Linked DNA regions of Homo sapiens: regions 2, 3, 4, 5, 6 and 7 are each linked to region 1. The links are contacts of gene promoters, found by promoter capture Hi-C in blood cells and fetal thymus (Javierre and others, 2016). All regions are on one chromosome and are shown on one strand. The core of a region is centred on a gene start or on the middle of the fragment in contact, and the rest is flanking DNA. Distances in the headings are between cores, read along the strand shown. Region 1 holds the start of SLC25A3 (solute carrier family 25 member 3). Region 2 overlaps APPL2 (adaptor protein, phosphotyrosine interacting with PH domain and leucine zipper 2). Region 3 overlaps WASHC4 (WASH complex subunit 4). Region 4 overlaps WASHC4 (WASH complex subunit 4). Region 5 overlaps WASHC4 (WASH complex subunit 4). Region 6 overlaps EEA1 (early endosome antigen 1). Region 7 overlaps LOC105369947 (a long non-coding RNA gene).

What was found. The method cuts DNA at HindIII sites, captures the fragments that hold promoters and counts their contacts. A CHiCAGO score of 5 or more calls a contact.
Region 2: a fragment that was not itself captured here is called in contact with the fragment with the promoter of SLC25A3 in region 1 in 1 of 17 cell types (neutrophils); the score reaches 6.7 in neutrophils.
Region 3: a contact is called between a fragment that was not itself captured here and the fragment with the promoter of SLC25A3 in region 1, in 1 of 17 cell types (neutrophils). The highest score is 9.9, in neutrophils.
Region 4: a fragment that was not itself captured here is called in contact with the fragment with the promoter of SLC25A3 in region 1 in 1 of 17 cell types (neutrophils); the score reaches 6.1 in neutrophils.
Region 5: a fragment that was not itself captured here is called in contact with the fragment with the promoter of SLC25A3 in region 1 in 1 of 17 cell types (neutrophils); the score reaches 13.7 in neutrophils.
Region 6: a contact is called between a fragment that was not itself captured here and the fragment with the promoter of SLC25A3 in region 1, in 1 of 17 cell types (total CD4 T cells). The highest score is 6.5, in total CD4 T cells.
Region 7: a fragment that was not itself captured here is called in contact with the fragment with the promoter of SLC25A3 in region 1 in 1 of 17 cell types (neutrophils); the score reaches 5.7 in neutrophils.

What each region holds. Positions count from the first base shown.
Region 1 is chr12:98,592,121-98,595,162 of GRCh38, forward strand. SLC25A3 (solute carrier family 25 member 3) reads left to right here and starts at 1,566. Exons shown (of 8, transcript NM_002635.4): 1 at 1,566-1,620; 2 at 1,855-2,015. The coding sequence starts at 1,859. RefSeq lists enhancers at 1,088-1,307, 1,356-1,980, 1,558-1,657, 1,981-2,605. The HindIII fragment of the contact is 3,126 bases long and covers 866-3,042 here.
Region 2 is chr12:105,186,406-105,189,447 of GRCh38, forward strand. It overlaps APPL2 (adaptor protein, phosphotyrosine interacting with PH domain and leucine zipper 2), which reads right to left. Exons shown (of 21, transcript NM_018171.5): 17 at 1,868-2,042. Among named protein-coding and RNA genes, the nearest start is that of APPL2, 48 kb to the right of the region's middle. The HindIII fragment of the contact is 6,846 bases long and covers 1-3,042 here.
Region 3 is chr12:105,164,332-105,167,373 of GRCh38, forward strand. WASHC4 (WASH complex subunit 4) reads left to right here. Exons shown (of 33, transcript NM_015275.3): 32 at 310-409; 33 at 2,533-3,042. The coding sequence ends at 2,600. Among named protein-coding and RNA genes, the nearest start is that of WASHC4, 58 kb to the left of the region's middle. The HindIII fragment of the contact is 3,528 bases long and covers 1-3,042 here.
Region 4 is chr12:105,147,300-105,150,341 of GRCh38, forward strand. WASHC4 (WASH complex subunit 4) reads left to right here. Exons shown (of 33, transcript NM_015275.3): 25 at 2,316-2,450. Among named protein-coding and RNA genes, the nearest start is that of WASHC4, 41 kb to the left of the region's middle. The HindIII fragment of the contact is 9,694 bases long and covers 1-3,042 here.
Region 5 is chr12:105,128,893-105,131,934 of GRCh38, forward strand. All of the region lies in intron 13 of WASHC4 (WASH complex subunit 4), which reads left to right. Among named protein-coding and RNA genes, the nearest start is that of WASHC4, 23 kb to the left of the region's middle. The HindIII fragment of the contact is 4,632 bases long and covers 1-3,042 here.
Region 6 is chr12:92,925,635-92,928,676 of GRCh38, forward strand. The region is part of intron 1 of EEA1 (early endosome antigen 1); the gene reads right to left. Among named protein-coding and RNA genes, the nearest start is that of EEA1, 2.1 kb to the right of the region's middle. RefSeq lists an enhancer at 1,821-1,950. The HindIII fragment of the contact is 598 bases long and covers 1,193-1,790 here.
Region 7 is chr12:104,142,109-104,145,150 of GRCh38, forward strand. The region is part of intron 1 of LOC105369947 (a long non-coding RNA gene); the gene reads left to right. Among named protein-coding and RNA genes, the nearest start is that of NFYB, 5.4 kb to the left of the region's middle. The HindIII fragment of the contact is 3,300 bases long and covers 1-3,042 here.

The DNA of each region.
Region 1 (3,042 bases), core at 316-2,815:
CCGGCTAATTTTTTGTATTTTTAGTAGAGACGGGGTTTCACCGTGTTAGCCAGGATGGTCTCGATCTCCTGACCCCGTGATCTGCCCGCCTCGGCCTCCCAAAGTGCTGGGATTACAGGCGTGAGCCACCTCGCCCGGCCAATGCTAACTTTTTTTAGGTAACATCTTCTGTAGACTTTTAGACATTATCTCATTGAGTTCTCATAGACTCTGCAAGGTAAGTATTACTCCCATCCAGAACCAGACACCTGATTTGCAGGGTCCAGTGCAAACTAAAAAAAGCGTGGCCCCTTGTTCATACATGTATTAAGAATTTCAAGCCGGGCATGGTGGCTCAGGCCTGTAATCCCAGCACATTGGGAGGCCGAGGTGGGCGGATCACCTGAGCTCAGGAGTTCGAGACCAGACTGGCCAACGTGACGAAACTCTGTCTCTACTAAAAATAGAAAACTTAGCCGGGCGTGGTTGTGCACGCCTGTAGTCCCAGCTACTCCGGGGGCTGAGACAGGAGAATCGCTTGAACCCGGGAGGCGGAGGTTGCGGTGAGCTGAGATCGCCCCACTGCACTCCAGCCTGGGCGACAGAGCAAGACTCCATCTCAAAAGAAAAAAAAAAAAAATCAAAATGACAGCAGAGCATTAAATGAAGTGTAAGGCCATGTGTGACTGTACCAGTGTGAACCTATGAGGCCAGTCCCACCCCTATCTTACATCTAGGGAACAGGTACACAGAGATGAAGTAAATTCCCAAGGTTACTTTGTCAAGAGCTTGGAAAATATAAGAGTCAGAAGTCTAACAGGTTGAATCCCTATTAAACTCTCCCCAACTAAACTACGCCCCTCCCTGTTGAGCTGAATCTAATGAAAGCTTCCTAAATGTATTAACCACACACACGCACAATCTGCTATCAGTCACTTTCAGTAGTTCATCGCTGTAACATCTCAGGAGTTCAATGTTTCAACGTGTTCTGTAGATTACTGTGATAACGCGGCAAGCTGTCGTAAGACTTCTTGCTGCACATTTCTTTTTAAAATATTCTCCAGGAGTCTGATGAAAAATACAGACATACCTATGTTTAATGTCAATGGATGGAACTTATTTTAAAAAGTACTGTAATGGCAGAAGTTGTGACACAAAGTACTGCAGTGATGTTGTAACTCCAACACCTAAATATATTATCAAGCATTCGCGTTTTGTTTTGTTTTTTAAGTGACTACTAGATACTGTGATTCACTTAAGTGAAGCGAACTGAAGCCCGTGGTCAAGGAGAGACACCTGAAGGTGAAGGGACAAAGCGAGCAGGGTAAGAGCTCGAGCCCGACCCCTCTCAAAAAATATAGACCCGGAACGCGCGCCTGCGCAGAACGAATCCTCCCGCGCACAAGCCGGGCGGAAGAGCTGGGGCGGGCAGGGGCGGGAATAAGGTTGCTAGGAGAACGCGATGACGCTACGGGCTCGGCGCTCTTCTCCACCAATGGGCGACGCGTACTTGCAGTGGCGCGCTGTGTGCGTCACGCCGACGACGCGCGAAGGGCACACATCTTAGGACCCGGAGGACGTCCGGCCTCTGTGAGCCGCAACCTTTCCAAGGGAGTGGTTGTGTGATCGCCATCTTAGGGAGTGAGTGTGGCCGGGCCTTCTCCTGTGGCGGGTGTGGGGAGCGGAGCCCAGAGCTCCTGTGGGGCCGCTGCTTTGGCGGTGGGCCCAGCCGGGAGCAGCCTCTTTCGAAGGCCGCCGTGACCTCTTCAAGGGCGTGGAGACGGGAAGGAAAAGGCCCCGGTTGGGGTTCCAGGGCGCCGGTAACGTTAACCGGCGCCTTGCCTGTCCTCTAACCGTCGCTCCCTCCTCCCCTAGAAAGATGTTCTCGTCCGTGGCGCACCTGGCGCGGGCGAACCCCTTCAACACGCCACATCTGCAGCTGGTGCACGATGGTCTCGGGGACCTCCGCAGCAGCTCCCCAGGGCCCACGGGCCAGCCCCGCCGCCCTCGCAACCTGGCAGCCGCCGCCGTGGAAGGTGAGATCAGACCCTGCCCAATACAGTCGTGTGGTCTACTTGTGGGCCGCCCAGCCTTTGAGGCCTGGACCCGGCTTGGAGGACAGGGAAGGACGAGTCCAGCCCGCTGCACCGTAGGACGGCGCCCAGTTGCTTGCCCTGGGGTATCGGCCTTTTCCACCATAGGCGGGTGTCAGATCCTTGGCCTTCCCTCAAGGGCGTGGAAGCGCTGAGGCCCTGTGTCCCTTCGTGACCTCCGTGTGCCCGAGGGAAGAGAGGCCGTGACTAGCTCTTTCTCCGCCGTGAGCTCGCTTGGTCAGCAAACTAAGTACTGGGTAAACTCTCCTCCCGAAACTACTGACCACCCACAGTTCTACTAACTATATTACCTGTCCTTTGATTTGCCCTTAGTTTTCTTAAAAATAGTCCTTTCCTAAGTTTTATATTTGTCGACGCCAGGTCAGTCATTTTTGCACTTAATTGTATATGAGATAACTAGATGTCCTGTTTTCGTGCGACTGGAGGAGGCAGCTTGCAGCCCTACATAGGCAATAGAAAGGAGATAATTGGTGGGCGTCCCTTTGGTGTGATTATCTCTTGGGATTCTTGGTGGTTGGGCCCAGCTTTAACTTAGTTGTGTGTGTTTTAAATCCTAGTGAAGTATGTACATACAGAGAAACCTGAAAACCGAATTGTAGGAGTCCTAAGAATGTTATCTACCTTGTGCCTGTAAAATCGAAAGATTTTTTTCTTTAAATCATTCATGTGCTTCTGTTGTCTTTAGTATGGATAGAGTCCTTATTTACACTATCTGTCGTTCAGTTTAAAAGTTAAAGCTAACATTATTTGTGTATTAAATGTATTTGACTGCAGGAATTTGTGCGTATCCGTTTTTATGTTACAGGAGTTCTTAAGTGGGGATAGTATTGGTTAGTGGCTGGGATAAACTTTGAAGTTGTTTGCAAGCCTTTTACATGTCGAGTGATCTTTCTGAGTTTCGTTTGTACTCTGAAGTGTGCTCTTACCAGTGGTTAATAATTTGAAGTTT
Region 2 (3,042 bases), core at 394-2,893, 6.6 Mb after region 1:
CACCATTTGGATATCACGAAAAGGACTGCTATGAACATTTGCGTATAAGTTTTTGTTTGAACACCTGTATTTAATTCTTTTGGGTAACTACCCAGGAGCCCGCCAAACTATTTTTTCACAGCAGCTGAACCATTTTATATTCCCACCAGCAATGGGTTCCAGTTTCTTCACATCCTTGCTAAACGCTTATTTTCCATTAAATATATATATCATATATATATCATATATATCATATATATGATATCGATATCATATATATCATATATATGATATATCATATATATATCATATATCATATCATATATCATATCATATATATATCATATATATCATATATATATAAACATCTGTGAGACAGTGTGCATGCGTGCGCACGCCATCTTAATATGGAGTGACATATCTCATTGTGGATTTGTTTTGCATTTCCCTAGTAACACATAGCATCTTTTCATGTCCTCATTGGCCATTTGTATATGATCTTTGGAAAAATGTCTATTTCAAGTCCTTGGTCCATTTTTTAATTGGGTTGTCTTTCTGTTGAGTTTTATAAGAGTTCTTTGTATATTTTGTGTACTACATCCATATTAGATAGAATTTGTGAATACTTTTTTCCCATTCTGTAGTTTTTCTTTTCACTTTGATGTGCTGTGGTTTTTCACAGTACTTTTACATATATTTTCCTTTGATCTTTTTGGTGGAAATTATTCCAGGACCAATAGGATTATAAGAACCATGAGCCCATTTCTGTAAAAGGTCCAGGACATAGTGAAAGAACAGGTTTTATTAATAAGAACTTAATTCTCAGATAAGGTTCATAATAAATGAAAAGGATGGGCTTAATGAATGGAAGAAGCTATATCCTAATTTTTGCTATAGTCCTAGTTACCTTTTTTGAAGCTAACGTTCATTGAGCACTTTTCATGTGCCAGTGAGTTGTAAATGTCTTACATATATTAGCACATTTATTCCTCATGACATTTATTCCTCATGACAACAGTGGAGGGTGTGAATAGTTACTTTCATTTTACAGCTGAAAAAACTGAGGTACAGAGGCTCAAAAATTTGCTTAAGGTCACATAACTAAGAAATGCCGAAGCCAGGAATAAACTGAGACATTCTGGCTCTAAAGCAGTGCTGTCCCTTAGAAATGTAATGGAAGCCTTATATGTCATCGAAGTTTTTCCAGCGGCCACATTAAGTGAAAAGTAACAGATAAAATTAATTTTACTTAATCCAGTATATCTAAAATATTACCAGACATGTGATTAACCTAAAAAATTAGTGAGATGTTTTACATCCTAAATCTTAGAAATTTGGTATGTATTTAACACTGAAAACACATCTCAGTTCAGGCTAGTTTTGCTGCAGATGCTACCTGTGGCTACAGTATCATACACCCATGTTCATAACCAGGATTTTGGTCATATCTGAAACCCAGATCGTATTACCTGAAACACTAAATCATGTAGTTAATATGGCCTGCTCTCTCTGTGATGGCCAAGTTATTTAGGCAGATTTTTAAGTTTTTTTCCATTATTTTTTATAAATAGTACTCTCAGAAATGAAAAAAAAAAAGCAAAACCAAAAAACTTCCATTTTCAAGCTCTGAGCTATAATATAGAGAATAAGTCTAGTGTGATGGCATCTTTGTGAACAACAGTATTCACTCACCACTGGATTTTTGAAGATACCAGTTCTTGTCTCTAAGGGAGCACTTTCTAGGCTATCTATCTTATGTAAAAAGTAGTGGGGGCAAAAGCAAGAGTAGTCTCTTCATTCCAGTACTAACATTTCAGATGGGTGCATTAGCCTTAAAAGGGGAATTAGCTGAAGCCATAAGAAAGTCTGAAAATAAAACTGAACGTACCTCAAAGATTGACTGGTGACCATCAGATGGGATTCTGTCATGCGGAAGATGTTATGAATAGCCCGAGCAGCCAATACTTGTCTCATCGCTTCATAAATCACTTCAGTAGTGCTGTCTGTTTTAACTGCCATTGATCCCAAAAACCGAACTATAAACATCTGCTGCAAAAGAGAATCTGGAAGACAGCATTTTCCACTCAGGATCTCATTTACTTCCTGCTGCTGTTGATCTGCATACCAGGGTCAGATGTGCTAGTTTTGCCTGCTTTCTGTGGAGGACTTTCTACCAAAATTTCTCAATACCACTTTTATAAGCCCAATATTGCCAAAGCTCTGCGTCTTCCATTTGTCTACATCTTGTCAGTTTGTTTGGAACTACTTCATTAGACTAGAAAGGCTTTTCTTCATCTATAAAATGAAATGATGGTGGTACCAGATGAACATCCTTCTAATGCTGAAACTCTAGGTGACTACATTGTACCTTTTCTCTGAAAAGAGTGAGTTCACTAGACAATAGAAAATTCATTACTTTGGCCCACTGATAAAGTCCTCTTAGAAAAGAAATTTTATTTGCAGGATATAAGATCTCATGTTGGGTCTCATGCAATTCATACTTCATGTGTATTACGGAAAGGCAGTGATGATGTTTCATAGCCTAAAGGAAGTCAGTCCTGGCTGCTGACAGTGGCGCATAACTTGACAAAACTGACTCCCAGCAACCATAACTAGAAGACCAAAGAAGGTTTTTTCTTTTTTTTCTTTTTTGAGACAGGGTCTCACTCTGTAGCCCAGGCTGGAGTGCAATGGCATGATTTCAGCTCACTGCAACCTCCGCCTCCCAGGTTCAAGTGATTCTCATGTCTCAGCCTCCTGAGTAGCTAGGATTACAGGCACCTGTCACTACACCTGGCTAATTTTTGTATATATATATATATTTTTGTAGAGACAGGGTTCTCACTGTGTTGCCCATGCTGGTCTTGAACTCCTAAGCTCACGTGATTCACCTGCCTCGGCCTCCAAAAGTGCTGGGATTACAGGCGTGAGCCAGCGTGCCGGCCATCAGATACGTTCTTAAGTACATTATAAGAATGTAAAAAACCAAAAATTTGAATTTGAAAGACTTAAATATCATTTGTGTCATCTTCAAATTCAAGAACAAGTTATTTGTGCTTTTGG
Region 3 (3,042 bases), core at 312-2,811, 6.6 Mb after region 1:
TCTGCTTTGACTTACCATTTGATATCCATGACTTCTTAATGTCTGAAAAGCAGAAGCCATATAGAAACTACCATTTTCACAAGTGAGATGAATAGTGGCAAAAAGATTATATTTTAAAATGAGTGCTATTTGGAAGCCATTTGACTCACATCTTAAAAATGGGCGGGTTACTTATTTCAGTTTCTGTATTTATGATTTCCACTAGAGCTTTTAAAAATAATAATAAGAGGCATAAAAATGCATATATTTTTGGTATTTTGCCATAATAAGTATTTTTGGTTTTTATTTCAAATTTTTAAATTTACTTAGGAATTTGAATTGCTGTATTTCTCACTGAGCAGTGCAAGAATTTTCTTCAGAGCAGACAAGACTGCGGCTGAAGAAAACCAAGAAAAGAAAGAGAAGGAAGGTCAGTGAGTGGTTTAAATTTGGAAAGACCAATAAATGTCTTTAGTAATAGACAGTAATGCACCATTTTATCTGGTCAGACATCTAGCTTCTTTGTCCTTTTGGAAAATAACACAGACCTAGCATTAAGTCTTTTAAAAAAAGTAAAGCCTGTATAGATCTTGTGTGAAATTGAAAAGGAATTTATGTAGTTTATGCATTTCACACTTGGTAACCCTTTAAAACCTTGTTCAGGATCATCTGCTTTTAATTTAAATACACTTTTCACAAGTTTGGTTTTTCTTTCATGGCTCAAACTATTAGATTTGAAGGAACAAATAGAGGAGGACAGCTAAATGTTGCTGAAGGCAGAGCTGCTGATGACTAGATGTTGACTGAATGAGATGGGACAGATGATTAAAGAACTGTAAAATCATAGGGGCTATTTAGTTGTAGTAAATAGCATCCTGCCTTCTTTCATAGTCAGGCCCTGGAGACTCAGGCAATATAGCCATAATAACTGATAGTGATTTCAATGAACTTCAGTCATTAAGGAAAGGATTCTGTCCATTGTATTCTATGTAGGATGGTGGAAAGGAATCTATACTTTTTAAGGCGTAAGAGCATTGTTCAGTGTTTCATATTTAATGTCCCCATGATATATTTCTCTCAGATTTGAAATTTAGGAATAATCATCTTCTCTGAGAAACAGATGTTTCCCTTTTTCTGTCATGGATATTATATAGCATACATTTCTCATTGCTTGGAAGATCAAAACTAGATACAGCGACTAGTTAACCCTTATAATTTTCATGTTTACTAGTCTCCTTTTTGTCTTACTCGTGCTTCATGAAGTTTTCATAAATCAAGATATAAAGCTCTTCATAAAACAAGATGTTTTTATTAATCTTATTTTATGTTAATTTTTAAAATACACCTTTTTTCTTTATATAGAGTAGAGGTGACTCATTGGGTAGACCACTTACGTGAACTACCTTATTTCTTGACATTGTTGCATAAATTAAATATTACTAATATTACTTATTAATTAGGTGCATATCCAGGCGTTTTTTGAATCTAGACTAAATAAACATGCTTGAAAAAATTGTTTCAGCTTATTAATCTGGAAGACACTCAATATTAAATGAAAATTTATACATACTACATTTGTGTTCATTTTCAAGGATAAATTAGCAAAGCCATTTGGAAGAATTTGAATCAATATAATCTAAATTATGAAGAAACTCAGTTATTGCCTCAGTTCTGCTCATGTGTTTCATGATGCCAGAACCTTTTCCCCAGCCCAGGTGACTGGGAAAACTCTGCGGGGCGATTGGACATTTGCTTTCAGGCTAAAGCATTAAAACAAAACAAACAACCCTTCAGTCTCATGGCAGTGGGATTCCTTGCTTTGGCCTATTCCTCTTAAGGAACTCTCCAGAGTTGCAGTTGTTATGTTATCACTCACATCACTGTTCTAAGACTATTTCAGCTAAAGATTGCTCAGAGATATAGTCAGTTTCTGAATACATTACTCAAATAGTCTTTGTCTGTTAATGAAATATGCACACATGACATTTTGCACAAAAAGCCAGGAATTCATTCTGTCAAAAACAGTGAAAAGCTGTTTCATTTAAAATTATTTTAAGAAATAATATATATTACGTATAATTTATTATAATAAGTTATAAATACAAATGGAAAGTTATTCATTCTGGACAGTTTTGATATGTGAGTTTGCAGCCATGTTCCTACCAGGAATGACAATGTACTGTAATGGTTCTTTCTTGGCCCAGCTGGAGGAACTGGCGTGAGGGGAGCGGGCCTTTCTTAGACCAGGAATATCAAGATTCCTCAGGACAAAGGAGCCCATGTGGTTTGAAGCCCCACCCCAATACAGGTTCTGAGCTCCCTCAACTCCACCTTCATTAAAAACCAGTGGAAACAATTGCAGTGTTTAGCCTAGATTTTTAAAAATTTTAAAGTGTAAACAAGGTATAATTTGTGATGTTAGAGAAACATTTGATGGATGCAACTGTAATTTGAAGTTTGGCAATACAGCTCTTCTCAAATTTCTTTTACTTCTTAATTTATTGTTTAAAAATGAACATAAATATCCATTATTATTTTCACTCATGCTTTCAGAAGAAACTAAAACAAGCAATGGAGACCTGTCTGACAGCACTGTGTCTGCTGATCCTGTTGTGAAATGATACGGATGGTATTCACTGCACATATGATGAAATCATCAGAATTGTTAAAACTTTTGCCAGTGGAATGGATAAACTATTGATGAATTGTTTCCTGGGTCACATCTCTGGAAAATAGATGTTACAGTTCTTAAAGGCAGTGCTTTAAAGTGAAGTTCATTCTGTTTCCAAAGGCTCTACTTTCAAAGGTTAAGAATGAGATTTTAAAATTGGATTTTTGCCTGGACTTGAGGGTACAAGATGTTTCTATTTGAAGTGAAGTTATAAAAGGGCAAATCCAGATTCATAAACTATCACCTCGGATTTCTTGTAATCTACATGTTTGTAATTTGTATTTGCATAGATCTTTGATCTATAGTTATTTCAAGTCATGGGAAATTCAATGCATATACTATATACAGCCAGTAAATACATGCTTAACAAAAGGAATGAGCCTGAAGTTCAT
Region 4 (3,042 bases), core at 282-2,781, 6.6 Mb after region 1:
GTCCTAAAATTGTGTTGGATGTGATGGGAGCTGTGATACAAAAGACACTTTAGGGTAGATTACCATCTCAGAGCCATCATTATAAATAGTGCTAGATATTTGAGGACATCAGCACATTAATATATGTGTGTGCACACATATATATATGTTTATCTGTGTTGATCTGTGATCCCTGAAAGTTTACTTTTGAAAGTCAACAATAGATAGTAATTTACTTAATGTTATTTATGCCCTTTTTGGGGCAGGGTTTGCTAATTATTTGATGTCCATATAAATAGGAACTTACTAAAAATATATTGAATCTTCTTAGAAATGGGCATTCACCGCTTGGCGTGGTGGCTCACGCTTGTAATCCCAGCACTTTGGGAGGCTGAAGCAGGAGGATCACCTGAGGTTGGGAGTTCAAGACCAGCCTGACCAACATGGAGAAACCCCATCTCTACTAAAAATACAAAATTAGCCAGGCGTGGTGGCGGGCGCCTGTAATCCCAGCTGCTTGGGAGGCTGAGGCAGGAGAATCGCTTGAACCTGGGAGGCAGAGGTTGCAGTGAGCTGAGATTGCGCCATTGCACTCCAGCTTGGGCAGCAAGAGCGAAACTCCATCTCAAAAAAAAAAAAACAAACAAAAACGAAATGGGCATTCACTTGAAGGAATTATTTGAACTCGTATGCTATTTTTCTGTCTGTGGAAAAAGAGAAGTCTTTGAATTTACCTGGTTTTCAGAGCACAGTTAATTTCTCCTTTAGGGGAGAAGACTGAATGCTTAAGTAGTACAGTATTATTAAACACATTTGGAGTAGGGAATTGGGAGAAAATGGAAAGTTAAGTTGGGATCATTTAAGTATACAGTGGAAAAGCATTGAAGATTTTGAGCCAATGAGTGATATGATTGGAGCTCCATTATAGTGGGGTTATCAATATAGAAATGAAACATACAATTTTAAATTCCAAATGAAGAGTCATCCATGTAATGATCATGTTTGTACCTTTGAGGATAAATAAAACTGAACTTTTGAGAGTAAACTCTTCCTTGACTTCTATCATCTATCAAATATTCATGTAACAGATGTGAATGTATTTTATGTGTCAGGGACTGTGCTGGGCACTAGTGTGAGAAAAACACATTTCCTGCTTTCACAGTAATCACAGGGATATAGATGTTCATCAGTTAATTACACTAATGAATGTAGATTACTGATGTCTGTTGATGAAATGAGCATAGAAGGATAGAAATCAGGATGGCAGAATAGTTACCCACTATTAAGAGTGGAAAGGATTAAAAACAAAAGACTGTTAAAGAGATTTTTTTAAAAATGCAAAGAAACAGAAAAAACAAGGAGAGAGTACAATGTTTAAGCTACAAGATAAGTTCCCGAAAATCATTTGTTTCCATAATTGGGTAAATGAATACTGAGTAAAACGGGCACAAATTTGTCAAAATCATTAGTAATACTTGAGAGTTAGTGGGGTTGGAAATGAATTTAGGGTTTTCATTTGTAGGTTGGAATTAATCTTATGCTATTTCTGCCTGTAGGTTGGAATTAATCTTTTGCTATTTCCATCTGTAGGTTAGAATTAATTTTACTGTGCTATTTTGACTTTAATCTCAGCTCATACCTCACTTTCTTAGGATTTTCTGAGTCAAGGGCTTTTTGTTATTTATTGTCAAAGCACACATGTACTTAACATTCTGAGAAATTATTACAGTAGAGATTTAATAATTTATTTAACAATACTTGTTTAAAATGTTTGTCACCTGTTCTAGAATATAAACTTCGTGAAGACAAGGACCATGTCTAGCATGGGAGAAGGCACGTTGCCTTGTGTGTAAGAGGTGATTAGAAATATTTATGGATAGATAATTGAATATGTGGTATCTTCAGGAAGGTTCAGAGAACACCATGTTTCTTACTTTAGTATCATTCTAGACCTGTAGATTAGCAATAAGTAATCTTACTGATGGAGGAACATAGAAACTTCTCACTGGACCATGGCTTAAAAACTAGAGTCTTGAGTCTGGTTTTGTGATTCTCACTACAGCCCTTAGTCCTATCATGAGAATATTTTCCACTTTTTTCTTTTCTTTTTTCTTTTTTAGTAAAAATATGTAAGAGGAGCTTATAGAAAGTTTTGTGAACTTCAGCAATAAAAAATGTTATTTAAATATTTTCAGGTCCAATATGAAATAGACTTTTTAAATAGTACTTTATAGGTAGTACAAATAGATAACTGTGATACAGTAAAATTTATTTGAATTGATTTGAATTAATTTTTATATTAACTTTTTTCAACTTTTTGAATTTTAATTTTATAGGTTAATTTCACCTACCAGTTTTTGAAAAAGAAGTTCTATATATTTAGCCAATTTATGTATGATGAACACATCAAATCCAGATTGATTAAAGATATTCGATTTTTCAGGGAAATTAAGGACCAAAATGATCATAAGGTAGGCTACCTATTCTTTTTAAGGTATTTGATTAAGCTATTGAGTATATGGCAAATGTGTATGCTAAAATTCATTATTTAGATCTCTATTGGGGTTTTAGTTTTATTTTCCCTATAATTTCTTACTCTGCATTATCTGTAGGCTTAAGGTAAGGAAAAAATTAAATCATAAATGTAGCCAGGTGATACTTTTTCTTTATTTTAAAATAATATAAAAGCAGGACATGCTTATTTTGAAACATTTAAGCAATATAGAATGGATAAACTGAATATCCACCTTCATTTCTCTTTCCATTCCATTTTCTGGAGGCAGTTGCTAACAATGTAGTGTGATGGCTTTCAGATATCTTTGTATATAAACATGTATATTTACACACATATATTGCTTTTAAAAGCAGTATAGTAAAAATGGAGTAATATTATACATAGCATTTTGCACTGTGCTCATCACGTCAGTACATACAGATCTGCTTCAAGTTGATAGGGATACATCCATGTATATCATAACTTATTTAACCTTCTTCTGTTGACCATTATTTAGGTTTTTCTAATTTTTCATTCTTACAAACAGTGCTGCAGTAACATCTTTACAC
Region 5 (3,042 bases), core at 190-2,689, 6.5 Mb after region 1:
TTCAGCTCCCAAGTAGCTGGGACTACAGGTGCCTACCACCATGCCCAGCTACATTTTTTTTTTTTTTTTTTGAGACAGAGTCTCCCTGTGTCGCCCAGGCTGGAGTGCAGTGGTGTGATCTCGGCTCACTGCAACCTCCGCCTCCTGGGTTCATGTGATTTTCCTTCCTCAGCCTCCCGAGTAGCTGGGATTACAGGCACCCACCACCACGCCCGGCTAATTTTTGTATTTTTAGTAGAGACTGGGTTTCACCACGTCAGTCAGGCTGGTCTCGAACTCCTGACCTTGTGATCTGCCTGCTTCAGCCTCCCAAACTGCTGGGATTACAGGCGTGAGCCACCGCGCCAACGCCTGGCTAATTTTTGTATTTTTAGTAGAGACGAGGTTTCATTATGTTGGGCAGGCTGGTCTTGAACTCCTGACCTCAGGTGATCCGCCACCTCGGCCTTCCAAAGTGCTGGGATTATAGGCGTGAGCCATCACACCAGGCCTCTTTTTAAAATTGTTTTTATTTTTTATTTTTAAACTTTTAAGTTCAGGATACAAGTGCAGGTTTGTTACATAGGTAACCATGTGTCATGGGGGTTTGTTGTGCAGATTACTTCATAACCCAGGTATATTCCATGGAATTTTTATTGGTCAGATCATAGCTGGTGTTTGGTGGTGCCATGTTTTGAGAGGGTCACAAACTGCAGCATCCCTAGATGCAGCTGATCAGGATGTCAGAAGGTCTGAGAACCATGCCTTCTTGTTTGTCTTCTCTTTGTTAGTGTCTGTATAGTTTGGCCTTTAAAAGAGAAATCTGTGGAATGATGTGGTGGGTTTCTTTAAATATTTGAGGGACATTCAGAATGAAGAGGGAACAGATTTGATCTCTGTGGCTCCAGTAGGCTAAACTAAAACCAAAAGGTGAAGATGACAGATAGTAATGATAATAATTGCCAACATCATGAAGCTCTCAACTCTATGGCAGGCATTATGCTAATAGCTTTAAACATACCATGTTCCATAAAGCATGTAACAGCCTTCCGGCAGAAAATAATAAATGTAACAATTAATGTTTATGGAGTGCTTACTATATGCTAGTAGGTATTCCAGGAACTTGACACATACCTCCTGTAATGATCAGAAAATTGTATGAGGTAGATACTTTTGTTGCCATTTTGTAGATGAGAAAACCCTACAGAGATTAAACTTGCCCAAGTTTAAACAACTAGTAGGTGGCAGATGCAGGCAGTTCAACTCTACAGCCCAGGCTGTTAACTACTACTATAAACCATTTTTATCCCATTTTTAGATAAAATGAGTCTTAGAGAAATGAACTTTGCCAGGTCACACAGCTAAGTACATGTCAGAGAGGGCATTCAAACCAGTGCCAATCCTATTCTGGTGCCTCTGCAGCAGGTAGCATTGTGTAGGCTGCTCTGTAGTCTCCTTCACTAAAGCTGTGTAGGCAGAATATAGATAACTGTCAGTCCAAGATCTGTGGGAAGTGAGTCTTACTAAGTGGACAGTTGAATAAGTTGACTTTCAAAGACTTATCACATGATGAGATTTTGTTTCTAAATTCTTTACTACAGAGCTCCATGAAGATGAAGGGCACAGTTATTTTTTTCAGTCTCTTAGCAGTTATGTCAAGGAAACCTAAAATTCACTCCACTAAAGTGAAACTCAGAGGGATGATGTGATCAGCAGGGCTTTGTCCTGACATTTTAGAGAAAGTTGAGGGGTTGTCTAAGAGGTGTCCCAAGGTCAGGCTTCAGAGTTTATGTAAGTGAGTAGGGAGCAATGGAGAGCAATGAGCAACAGTATTCCTGCCCCCATACTATACACCAGACCCCAAGTGGCCAGTGTCCCAGCTGCCTCCTTGACTGGGGTCCAAGGTTTGTGGATTTTTGCATTTTGCTTTTGATTCACAACCACTTTAACACTGGAAAATACTGCCTTTAGAGGACAGAGGTCTGAATCTTTGTTTCAACCCCCCATGTTGACATATAGGCGTTGACACTGTTTAGTGCTTTATGTTGGGGCAGGAGATTTGTTTTTTTACCTTGGTATTTTTCCTGTTTGTACTTTGAAATGCAACTGACAATCCAATAGGACACTTCACGATTTTTGTACTCTTTGTCAGTTAACTTGCTTTTTAAAACTTGAAGCAGTTTTGTTTTTATATATTTATTTATTTATTTATTTTTTTTTTTTTTTGAGACGGAGTCTCGCTCTGTCTCCCAGGTTGGACTGCGGACTGCAGTGGCGCAATCTCGGCTCACTGCAAGCTCCGCTTCCCGGGTTCACGCCATTCTCCTGCCTCAGCCTCCCGAGTAGCTGGGACTACAGGCGCCCGCCACCGCGCCCGGCTAATTTTTTGTATTTTTAGTAGAGACGGGGTTTCACCTTGTTAGCCAGGATGGTCTCGATCTCCTGACCTCATGATCCACCCGCCTCGGCCTCCCAAAGTGCTGGGATTACAGGCGTGAGCCACCGCGCCCGGCCTGTTTTTATATATTTATAAGAGGTAAAGATCATCAGTCATCTGGATGTGATCACAGAGTGATGGGCAGAAGTGACATAAAAGCCTCTGCATTATCCTATAGCCTTACCTAAAGCTGGCTGAATGCTGTTCACTGTGTATTATTGCCTTCTTCATAGTGTTATTGACACAGTTGCTCATCAGGGAGAGTTCCATAGTCTAGCCTAGGTCTCTTTCTGTGGTCCTTGCTTATGACTTTTCTGTTCTCTCCTGTACATGGGATTCCTGCTGAGTCTTGATCACAACCTCCTCCTCAAAAGTGAAGGTGTTGCTCTAGGACTGTGCTGTCTGTTTTTAAAAAAGGACCAGGCTTTTAAAAAAGGAATCATTCATAAGTCAAACAGTATGTTTCAGCACCACTCTAAGCAAAGCCACAAAGTATGACTATTTGTGTTTTTCGTCTAATGGAATTATGGCTCTGTAGAAACTGTTTTTCTCAGATTTTGTGCTAGGGTTTCACCTCCCTGAGTCACATTTATTAGAGATTTTGACAGGATCCTTCTTTAGATTGA
Region 6 (3,042 bases), core at 242-2,741, 5.7 Mb before region 1:
ACTATTAAGTAAAATATTCAATACATACATATTGGAGCTACTTCACTTTGGTTTTGTTTTGAGGTTTTTTTGTTTTTGTTTTCCAGCTTCTTTCAAGCCTCAGAGAAACACCTTAGTAAGCTAATGAAAAAGGAGGAGCAGGAGGAGGGACAAAAGCAGGAGAACCAGAAACCAAATTTCCGTAAAGTATCCTGAGACTTATTGATGATGTTCAAACACTTTGAGTTCTAATTGATGGTAAGCAGTTTGTCTGTTTCTTCTTTTAAAAAATGCTATTTAAAGGAAACTATTCAGAAGAAAATAAGAATAGTTAAAATGAAAAGTTCATCTAAAAACAAAATGCTAAAGGAATGCCACATAATTTTTTTTTTTTTTTTAGACGGAGTTCCGGTCTTGTTGCTCAGGCTGGAGTGCAATGGAGCAATCTCAGCTCACTGCAATCTCCACCTCCCGGGTTCAAGTGATTCTCCTACCTCAGCCTCCTGAGTCGCTGGGATTATAGGCATGCACCACCACTCCCGGCTAATTTTGTATTTTTAGTAGAGTCAGGGTTTCTCCATGTTGGTCAGGCTGGTCTCGAACTCCCGACCTCAGGTGATCCGCCCGTCTCGGCCTCCCAAAGTGCTGGGATTACAGGAATGAGCCACTGCACCCAGCCAAGGAATGCCACATAATTTCAAAGCACAGAGTCCATTTCAAATAAATCTCTAAATTAACAATAGCTTTAATCTTATAGCTTAATATCTGTGCTGAGAAATAAGATTAGCAGGGAGGGGTAAAATAGGTTGCCATGTTACACAATTTAAAGATTCAAGTTATACTTGTTGGTAAATACCACTTGTAGAGTTAATAAAATATATATTCTACCTTCTAAACTAGTAAATCACCAGATTTAAGACATTTATCAAAATGTCCCTATTAAATACTCAGCATTAACACTGACCCAACTACAAGATAAAAGCTGAACTCCTTCAAAGGGACTCTTACGTCCTCTCACAATTTGGTCTCTAGCCACCACGGTAGCTTCATCTCTTACTAATTGCTACAGACCATCTCACTTCCTAAGCTTCATTGTTCACACTCCTCACAGTACTACCTGCGCCTTTTATGACTCCATCTCTTTGCATTTGCTGTTCCCTCTGCCTGACATGCCCTTCCCTCTTCTGAGCTGTGAATATGCCCCCGTCCCTGAAGCTTTTCCTAATTGCCCTCACCTCCCACAGAGTGCCTCCTGGGTCCTCTGTCCTCTTCATTATTCTATTACATAGCACTGTCATTACTTTTAAATGTTCACCTCCCAAACAGCCTGTGAGTTCTAAAGGGAGGACCCACAGCTTAATCAACTGTTTCCTACCCCTTAGCATGAAGCCTGGCATTTACTGAAACTCAATATAAATACACTGAATAAAAGAAAATTAAGTACTTAACTGTGAGAAACACTTCAAACTTTCCTACTAAAGAGTTAATGCATTTAACACAGTGATTCTCAACCAGAGGCAATTTTGCCCCTAGGGGACATTTGGTAAAATCTGGAGCTATTTTTGGTTGTCACAAGGGGGAAGGGATATAGGGGAATGCTACTGGCATCTAGTGGGGGTAGATGCCAGGGATGCTGCTAACATCTTACAAGGCACAGGGCAGCCTCCCACAACGCAGAATTATCCAGTCACAAATGCCAATAGCGCCGACGTTAAGAAACTCAGTTGTCAACTGACTTATTCAGAAGTGATGATTCAATATCACATCTCTGCAATAACCACAATCAATTTCACTTTTGTAGTTTCAACAGAAGCTTCTTTAACAGTTGATAGGTATGCACCAACATTAAAAATGATCTTCATATAATCTCGATGTTTAACTTTAAACCAAGATTACTAGAAAGCATCCCATATTTCTGAAAACCAATCTATAACTACAGCTGAGCTACCCTTAAACCAGTAAACACTTTTATTTGTAAACTTCAAAGCAAACCACAGGCAAACTAATTTTCACTTGCAGAACTATGACAGAAACACAATCTGAAACATGAGGTAATCAGTTCCTCCAGGTCTGATAAAAGAAAAATCTCCTAAAGCCTGAAAGTAAATCATGCACAGATGTCTTTACTGCTGAACTAAGGAAGTGATGGGGAAAGTAAAGGACATGCCCTTGTTACTGCCAAAATCATCGCTTACCGGGATTTCAAAATTCACAAAACACTGCAAAATACAATTAAATGTCAACACAGGTTGTCAGATAAAGAAGTTAACTATTTCTCCCTCTAATAACTGACCAAGTTTCACATGACTTCATTCTTTCAGGAGAAAGCTAGGCAGAAGCAAGAGCACTCCCTTCCTATCTACTGGATGACTCAACTCTCTTCCGCACATTCCTCGGCTGAATCCTACAAATTCACTAATTTCTTTTGTCCTTTGAACTAGTTATCCTACTCCCTCGGTAAAGAACTAATAGGCTCGGCACCTACTTTTCAATCATTTACATTTTGTTACACCCTATCAGCCTCAAAAAGAAAAGAAAAAAGCTATACCAAAAAAAAAAAACAAATTTAAGTTGACAGGTACAATAACTCTTACAGGAAAAGAGATGTGAATTATGTTATTCTAGTAACTGATTCTTAAATGATACACCTACAGTTTTCTAATGCTCTAATCTTTCTATCCTCAAGGTTTTCCAGATTTCAGAGACAGCACAGGCAGAAACTAAGTGTATATACCACTTGATCAAGCTTACTGCGGATTTATTCTTGGATAGCTAAAATAAGGTAGTGGGGCTTGCACAGAAAACATATTTTTAATTAAAAAAAAAGTTTCCAACAGTGAGTAACATCTTCCTTCTCGGCTGACTGTGCCAGTGTCAGTCCCACGCCTGGGCCCAGGCTAGGCCGGGGCTCACCACACCACCCTCCACTGTGGTCCAAAGGAGAAAGCAGGGCCGTGTGTGGCAGGTGCGCATCGTGTCAAATTGGGGGGCACGGGGAGTGCGGCGGGTGGGGAAAGGCGAAGCAAGCCGCCCGAATCTCCCATGGGGCGTTCTCCAGCCCGG
Region 7 (3,042 bases), core at 219-2,718, 5.5 Mb after region 1:
CTTCCACTCTGGTACACAGCAGCCAAGATTTCAGATCCTCTGAAAATATAAGTCAAATCCTGTCACTCCACTGCTCAAAAATCCCCTATTAACTCCTCATTTCTCTCAAAGTAAAAGACAAAGACTTTCCAGTGGCCTTGTAAGACAGAGTGGCAAGTTCCTTCATTCCAAATTGAGCAACAAAAAGATACTGATTGTTCTTTGGTCATAGTGACAAGAAACAACCAGAATCTGTTTTAATCAATCAATAACAATCTCCTGATCAGTGACTTGCTTCTGAAAATTAGCCAATCAGCAACAGCCACACTCTAGTAATCCTTCTTCCACATCTAAAGTTCAACTCATCTCTAAACAGTCCAGCTTCTAAGAGTTCCCCAACCTCCGAACCCCATGCTTCCCAAAACACTGTATAAGATTCACAGATTCCTTTGTTCAGAGACACTGTCTTACAAGTACTGCTGTCCTCTGGTTAGCAAGAAATATGTTCAGCACTTAATTGTTGCAGACGTGAATGGTGGCCTCTTCACTGGGCAACAACCTATGGGATCTTTGATCTATTCCCTTTCCGCTCCCCCTCTACCCTCATCTCCTCCTACCTTTTCCTTTGCTAATTGCACTCCTTGCAGTCCTTATTTCTGCCAGGAATGCTCCTGCCTCAGGGGCTCTGCACTGGCTGTTCCATCTGCCTAGTACATTCTCCCTCAGATAGCCACATAGCTCACTCCCTCACCTCCTTCCATGTCTTAATGGGGCCAGCCCTGATCACTTATCTAAAAATTGCAATTCCAACTCCCTACCCCCACTCAGCTATAACCCTCTAACATATTATATAGTTTCCTTATTTGTTATGTTTATGATTTATTGTCTGTCTCTTCCCACTAAAATGTAAGCCCTATGAGGACAAGGAATTTGGCTTGTTTTGTTTACCAATGCATCCCACACATCTAAAATAGTGTCCAGCATTCAGTTGGTACTCAATATTTGTTGAATGAATGGACTTTGAATGTTTCACCTTTTTAGAATATAAACTCCTTTAGTGCAAAGACCTTGTGTTCACCATTGTATTCTCAGAGCCTAAAACAGTGCCTGGCACATAGTAGGGGCTTCATAAGTATGTACTAAATGAATGCATGCACAGGTATGGTATAAAATTGTTTTAATTGATAATATAAATGACCCTGAGATTACCAAAGCCTTATGTGCCATCTTCCTCCACAGAAACACAGTTAATGAACACATTTAAAATTCCTCACATTATTATGATGTGTTAATCAAAAAATCCAAAACATATTCATCACTATTTCCCCAGGTATTGGGTAAGTTAATATACAAAGATGACTAAAAAATCCTTGATCAGCTTGAAAAAGCAGCAAGATCACTCTCGTTTCTAGGGCTGCTGAGGCTGAGGACAGGAGGAAATCCTTGTCTCTGATAGGAAAGAAGGGCAGAGAACATTCTTTTCTCATTTCCTTTATTTTTTTGCTTAAACTCTTGGGTCATTTCCAAACTGGTGTCCCTGTCCATTTAATATAACATGGCCATATTAATCTTCCTGAAAACTTGTTTTCTTAATCCTACATATGAATGCCAGGTCATAGAAAACATAGTTCTTATTGTGTTGTTACCTTTTAAAAAAATCATGAAAACAGCTCTCATCTATTATATAGTTACTACATATCAGGAACTCTGCTAAATGCTACCTGCATGTTTTCTCATTTCAGCCACACAATGACCTTATGAAATAGGTGTTATTTGCCCAACTCAAAAGACATGAAAACAAGCTCATAGTTTAAGAAACCAAGAAGTCACACAGCTGGAAACCAAGCCTCAAACCTGGCCCCAGTCCCTCTTATAAAAAAAAAAAAAAACTATTTATTCAAAGGGTCCCCATAGACTTTTCTCTAAAGAAGATACACAGATGGCCAACAAGCATATGCCAAGATGTTCAACATCATTAGTCATAAGGGAAATTCAAATCAAACCACAGTGAGATATCACTGCACACCCACCTAGATGGCCAGAATCAGAAAGATCGATAGTAACAAGTGTTGTCAAGGATATGGTGAAACTGGAACCTTCACACACTGCTGGTGGGAATGTAAAGTGGTACAGCCACTGTGGAAAACAGTCTGGTTGTTCCTCAAATAGCTAAACATAAAAGTTACCATTTGACCCAGCAATTCCACTCCTGGTGTATGCCCAAGATAAATGAAAATATATATCCATACAAAAACATATACATTTATGGCAGCTTTCTTCTTTTATTTTTATTTATTTATTTATTTCGAGACAGAGTTTCGCTCTTGTTGCCTAGGCTGAAGTGCAATGGCACGGTCTCAGCTCACTGCAACCTCCACCTCACAGCTTCAAGTGATTCACCTGCCTCAGCCTCCCAAGTAGCTGGGCAAATATGATATATCAATGCAATGGAATATCATTTGGCCATAAAAACAAATGAAGCTCTAATATATGCTACAACATGGATTAACCTTGAAATCATTATCTAAGTAAAAGGAGTCAGACACAAAGGACCACAGATTATATGATTTCATTTATATTAAATATCTAGAATAGTCAAATCCATAGAGAGAGAAGGCAGATTATTCTTTGGTGGGGGGCTAAGGGAGGAGATGGGAGAGCCCGAGGTGTGATAGCTAAAAGGTATAGAGTTTCTCTGTGAGGTGATGAAAATGTTCTAAAATTGTGAGGGCCGGGCACAATGGCTCACACCTGTAATGCCAACATTTTGGGAGGCTGAGGCAGGCAGATCACTTGAGGTCAGGAGTTCGAGACCAGCCTGGCCAACATGGTGAAATCTGATCTCTACTAAAAATACACAGATTAGACGGGTATGGCAGCAGGTGCCTGTAATCCCAGCTACTTAGGAGGCTAAGTCAGGAGAATTGCTTGAGCCTGGGAGGTGGAGGTTGCAGTGAGCCAAGATTGCACCACTGCACTCCAGCCTGGGCAACAGAATGAGACTCCATCTCAAAAAATAATAAGAAAATTTTTAAAAAATTGTGAGGATGGTTGCACAAATCT